Linked DNA regions of Homo sapiens: region 2 is linked to region 1. Evidence: promoter capture Hi-C in 16 types of primary human blood cells and fetal thymus (Javierre and others, 2016). All regions are on one chromosome and are shown on one strand. Each heading gives the region's core, a stretch centred on a gene start or on the middle of the fragment in contact. The rest is flanking DNA. Distances are from core to core; before and after follow the strand shown. Region 1 holds the start of CDCA7 (cell division cycle associated 7). Region 2 holds the start of GPR155 (G protein-coupled receptor 155).

Region 1 (2,567 bases), core at 39-2,538:
ATAACTAATACCATTTATAGTAGGCGTTTTTCGTGCCAGGCACTATGTTAAGTACACTTTCACGTCAGGTTTAATTCTTTGCAACAAAGGTGCTATCGTTATTCTCACTTAGCCAATGAGGAAACTGAGGCTCAGGAAAGCGAAATGGATTACTCAAGTCCCATGGTGGCTCAGATTTGAACTCAGGCATGTCAGGTTCCAAGACCAGCTACACATGGTTTTCTTCATCCGGAAAGCCAATGCCCAGCTCCACCGGGGCGGCGACTCAGCTCTGAAACCACGCCCCATCGCACCCACCCCCGCGAGGGTCCCTAACCCCTGATATTTATTTTAAACATGTCATTGTCTTCCGTTTCACCCAACCCCCACTCTTCTACCCTCTCCAGGAGCCCGACCCTACGTTCTGGCTTCCGTTAGAGCAAAAAGTAACGTTCCACTCAGAGCAACGTCCTGCAGCTAAGAGTAAGGCTGGGGGGTGGGGGGTGGGGGGTTGGGGGTTGGGGTGGAGGAAGTAGGAAACGAGCAAATGGTCGGCGAACGCTTTGACCCACCAAGCCCTTTAAATGCACTTAACCACCGCCCGGGACTACGGTCGCTTCACACTGCGTGCGCAGCCCAAGTTCTAGGAGACCGGTTCGCAAGACCTTAAACCTCAGACGCGCTGGCCCTCAGCGGTTAGAAGCGGACGCGTCTCTTGCCGGGCGGGGTGCGCGCCCAAGGGCCACCCACTGAGCGCGGGTATAGACGCGGCGAGCCACGCACTGGCTCCGAGTTGTGTGCGGGAAAGGGCTGGGCCGCTGCGGGACAACCTCCCAGGGGGCAGGCAGGCTGGCTCTGCCTGGCAGGCAAAATCGGGACCGGCCAGCGCTCCCGGCCGCTGTCCGGCCTTTGGCGGACGCACGTGCCTAGGGCTTTCCAGCGCTGCTAGCCATCCTGCAAACGACTCAAGTCTCCACGCCGCCCGCACTTCGGGTGCGCACGCCACGCAGGAACGTCCCCATGGCCCTCAGTTATCCCAGGTGCACAAAATCAGGGGCTTGCCCAAGCGGGCAACGCCTAGGCAGGCCACCAGTTAAGGCAGCGCTAGGCTGCGGAGTTGGAGAGGGTCGGCCCGCGCCCGCCTGCGTCCAGCACCCACCGCGCCCGCCCCTCGGGTTCGCCCGCCCAGCCCTCACCGGCACGCGGCGAGCGTCCATGCTGGTGGCGGGTGCCCAGATCGGCGCTTGGAGCGGGGAGAGCGGAGCAGCCGCGCGGTCAGCGGTCCCACAGCAGGAGGAGCAGCAGCAGCGCGGCTGGCAGGCTGGGCGCGCCGACCCGGGCCCGGAGGGGCGGGGCTCGGGCTGTCTTTCCCGCGTTGGGACACAGGTCCTGCAAGCTGTGGTAACGGCCAGACATGGCGCAAGACTAGGTGGCCCCCTGGAAAAAACACGACCCCCCTATATATTCTGACCTCAAAGGATAGCCTTGGGCACTCCTAAAATCCCCTTTGAGAAAGGGGGGCTTTAGGGGCTACGGGGACCACTCTCCTTGTGCAGCTGCGCGGTCCTGAGCGAGTGGCGCGAAAATGGTTCGTATTGCCCCGGGGTTAGCTGTCTGATTTGCAAGAATTTTCGTGGTGGCGGAGGAAAAGTGGAGTCTGGGGGGTAAAGGAGAGCAGCGTGAGGGTGGCGCGGGTCACGCACCATGGCGTTTAGCACTTTCATTGCTGCGTGCGGTTTACAAGATTTAAAAAATCATAGAATCCAGCACGAACTCCACCCTTCATAATCGAGTTCACCGCCCCTGGATGTAGCACCTCTTATCTGGGAACCACACCATTATCTGAAGCAATAAAATGAGTTAAATCCTGATCTTTCTTTCCAAAAAGCACAGGAAGCCGACTTGTTTACTTGTGGTTTTCAAAGTAGAAGAAAAGCCGCAGCAGCTTGATGAAGACGTCTATAGTATAGTTAACCTTTAACGATTATCTGTTGGGGATTGAAACTAAAGATTGAACAATTGTGGCTTGATGATCTTCTCTGTCTTCAGAATTGAGAACTACCCTGAGTCAGTGCGAACGAGAAAACTTTTCATTGCCCTTTTAACCAAACTTGGCATTACAACGAAAAAATGAAATAAAGCGAGGCTTTTTGTGTGCGTGAAGAGCAAAACTTGCTTCTACAAGAAAAAGTAAATTTAGTTTCTTTAGAAGACACTAATTATACTCTTAACATTTAAAACAAGCGCTTGAAATGAAAACATTCGCATTTCCCCCTCATTTCAAAACTTTTCTCTGGGGAATAATTAATTCCTTTGCAGTAAGAGAGTGCATGGACATACTGTGTTCCTCTCTTGGTGTACTGAATACAAAAACTGTGAGCAAGTAAATAATGCCCGAGGACAATGGATTGGAAGGAGTCTTCCAGCCTTTCTTAAATATACCTACCCAGTAATCACTCTGCCACTGTGCAAGGGACAAAGAGCTCAAGGTCTAGAAGGTGAGTGCCAGGAGGAGAGGCTATCGGTGGGTGGTGAAATTACGGAATTACAGGGCCCTCAGTAAGTATTTGTTGAATGAATAAACATTT
Region 2 (2,567 bases), core at 49-2,548, 1.1 Mb before region 1:
GGTGGGGCCTGAGGGCGGGACGGAGACTCTGGGCTCAAGGCTCCTGGAAATGGGCGGGGCTCGAGGGCGGGAAGCGGCCCGTCTTGCTGGAAGTTCGGGGCTGGGGGCGGGGTCTGAAGGCGGGGCTGGGAGGGAGCGGGGCCTGAAGGCGGGGCGGGGGCGGGGCCTCGCGGCCGGCGAGGGGCTGAGCTGACAGGGCCGCATCGGCTTACCCCACCTTACTTTATCGGAACGTGCCTAAGCTGCTGCAGCTGGCACCCGGTTGCGCTCGGCGAAGAGGGCTGGGGGCGGGAGATGACGGTGGTCTTCTCCCTGCTTGGCACCCTGCGAGCACCAGCTCCCTTCTCCTCGCCACTCCAAGGTTGCAGACGAAGCAGGTGAGAGGGGCCCCTGGAGCGCGGACCTGCTGGGTCCTGGTTCTCCCTTGCGGGCACGGGGTACCCCTGCCTCTGCCCCTCAGGCCTGGGCACGTGGGCAGCCGCCGACCCTCTGCGCCCTGGCCCCGCGGCCCGTTGTCTGGACCTGCTGTCTCTGCCCCGCAGCGCCTGCCTGTGGAACGTGTGAGATCACCCGGGAAGGCTCGCGCGGGGGAGGGGGTGTCTCGTCCCCTCCGGAGACAGAACTGCCATCCCTAGTTTGGGAAGCTCCTCACTGCACGGGCGTCCACCCTGTCTTTCTTAGACTCTTCCCTTTATCCCGAGGGTACCCTCAGTATCTGGCCCTTCCGAAGGCTTCTGCCCAGGCACCTGGAGCACTGCGCCAAATTTTCTCCCTTACCCGTTTTTGGGGTATGTTAGTTACCATGACGTTGTGACTCCCGTGCCCTGGGAAGACTAGCGACCACCTTTTTCTTACGCCAGGCAAAGACCCCTGGCTGCCTTTCCACTTCCACAGCTGCCTTCCCAGGGGTTGGCTGGCAGCTGCTCTCCGAGCAGCCTATTCGGTTAGGAACTCTCTGCGCCCCTTATCTTGGAGGGCCACAGTCTGTCCCTGCAGACGAGGCAAGGAGGCAGTGCTCAGCGCTCCCTACCCTGGGTCTCTAGGGAGGACATTTGGCGCCCTGCAAGTAGGTAGGAGTGGGTGAATGGTGCGACTATTAATGTTGAAGAGTGCTCTAATAGTACCACACTGTATTACACTTATCCCACGGGATAAAGGATGTTGGATGTTTGAGAAATAGCCTGAGAGTTTAAAGCTTTCTCTATGAAGTTAGTCAACCCTCGCCTTCCCCCCGCATTTTCACTTAATAGCAGTTATTTACAGTATCAGTGGTTCGTTTATGTGATCTAAGCCAAATGTGATGTGGCTAGAAGCGGTTTGTAAGTACAGTAGCATTTCTTCAGTTCGTGCCTCAGCGAGTGGTCTTTTACTGTGAACGTGTTTGTTCTGTAACAAGCTTTGTTTTTATAGATAAAAAGGCTGGATGTAATTTTTTTTTTAAAACTTCCCTTGCTGTGGTTCCTGTTCATTTTAAAATATGCTTTAGAAAGCATATTATCTTCCCGTTTAAAAAAGATTAGGATGAAATGAAACTTTTAAAGTCATTTTGATTATTTTGACTTTACCTCAGCAGGTATTTCTTTTATAATACTGAGAAACGTTAAAAGAAACCTCATGGGGAGGGGCAGATTGCTTTTTTTTTTTTTTTTTCTTGAGACGGAGTCTTGCTCTGTTGCTCAGGCTGGAGGGCAATGGCAGGATCTCGGCTCACTGCAACCTCTGCCTCCCGGGTGCAAGAGATTCTCCTGCCTCAGCTTCCCGAGTAGCTGGGATTACAGGCATCTGCCACCAAGCCCGGCTAATTTTTGTCTTTTTAGTAGAGACAGGGTTTCACCATGCTGGCCAGGCTGGTCTCCAACTCCCGACCTCAGGTGATCCGCCCGCCTCGACCTCCCAGAGTGCTGGGATTACAGGCGTGAGCCACTGCGCCCGGCCCTTTTTTTTGTTTTGTTTTTTTGTTTTTTAATTTTTCAACGAATTGAAAGTTAATCTTGGACATTGCTACAACTATTTGACCATCACCCTGAGAAAAATGAAGAGCTCTGCCTTCACTGTTAACCATTTACTATCAAACCAAATTAAATTCAACTTATCTTAATTGTTTGGTATAAAACAAAAACTGATAAATTTATGACGCATCCCATCCCTCTTTTTTTAGTTGGTGGATCTTTTACCAGTTATGTTTGAAGAACTAACATGTTTACTTTTTTATCATTATTAGTAGTAAGACAACAGTTCCTAATAGCAATTGCTGCCGTTTTTTGAAGGCCTACTCTGTGATAAGCTGTATATAAAATATTCTATCCACACAATATCCCTCTAAGGAGGTCTTTGTTTGAGACAGGGTCTTACTCAGGCTGGAGTGCAGTGGTGTGATCATGGCTCACTGCAGAGACCTCCTAGGCTCAGGTGATCCTCCCACCTCAGCCTCCCAGGTAGCTGGGACAACAGGCACGCATGACTAAGCTCAGCTAATTTTTTGTAGAGACTAAGGTTTTGCCATGTTGGCCAGGCTGGTCTGAAACTCCTGGGCTCACACAGTCCACCTGCCTGGGCCTCTCAAAATG

What was found. The method cuts DNA at HindIII sites, captures the fragments that hold promoters and counts their contacts. A CHiCAGO score of 5 or more calls a contact.
Region 2: a fragment that was not itself captured here is called in contact with the fragment with the promoter of CDCA7 in region 1 in 1 of 17 cell types (fetal thymus); the score reaches 6.7 in fetal thymus.

What each region holds. Positions count from the first base shown.
Region 1 is chr2:173,353,593-173,356,159 of GRCh38, reverse strand. CDCA7 (cell division cycle associated 7) reads right to left here and starts at 1,288. Exons shown (of 10, transcript NM_031942.5): 1 at 1,176-1,288. The coding sequence starts at 1,196. RefSeq lists a silencer at 1,077-1,346 and enhancers at 1,897-1,986, 1,289-2,244. The HindIII fragment of the contact is 4,998 bases long and covers 1-2,567 here.
Region 2 is chr2:174,484,683-174,487,249 of GRCh38, reverse strand. GPR155 (G protein-coupled receptor 155) reads left to right here and starts at 221. Exons shown (of 16, transcript NM_152529.7): 1 at 221-377. RefSeq lists silencers at 81-260, 524-706 and an enhancer at 601-670. The HindIII fragment of the contact is 201 bases long and covers 1,198-1,398 here.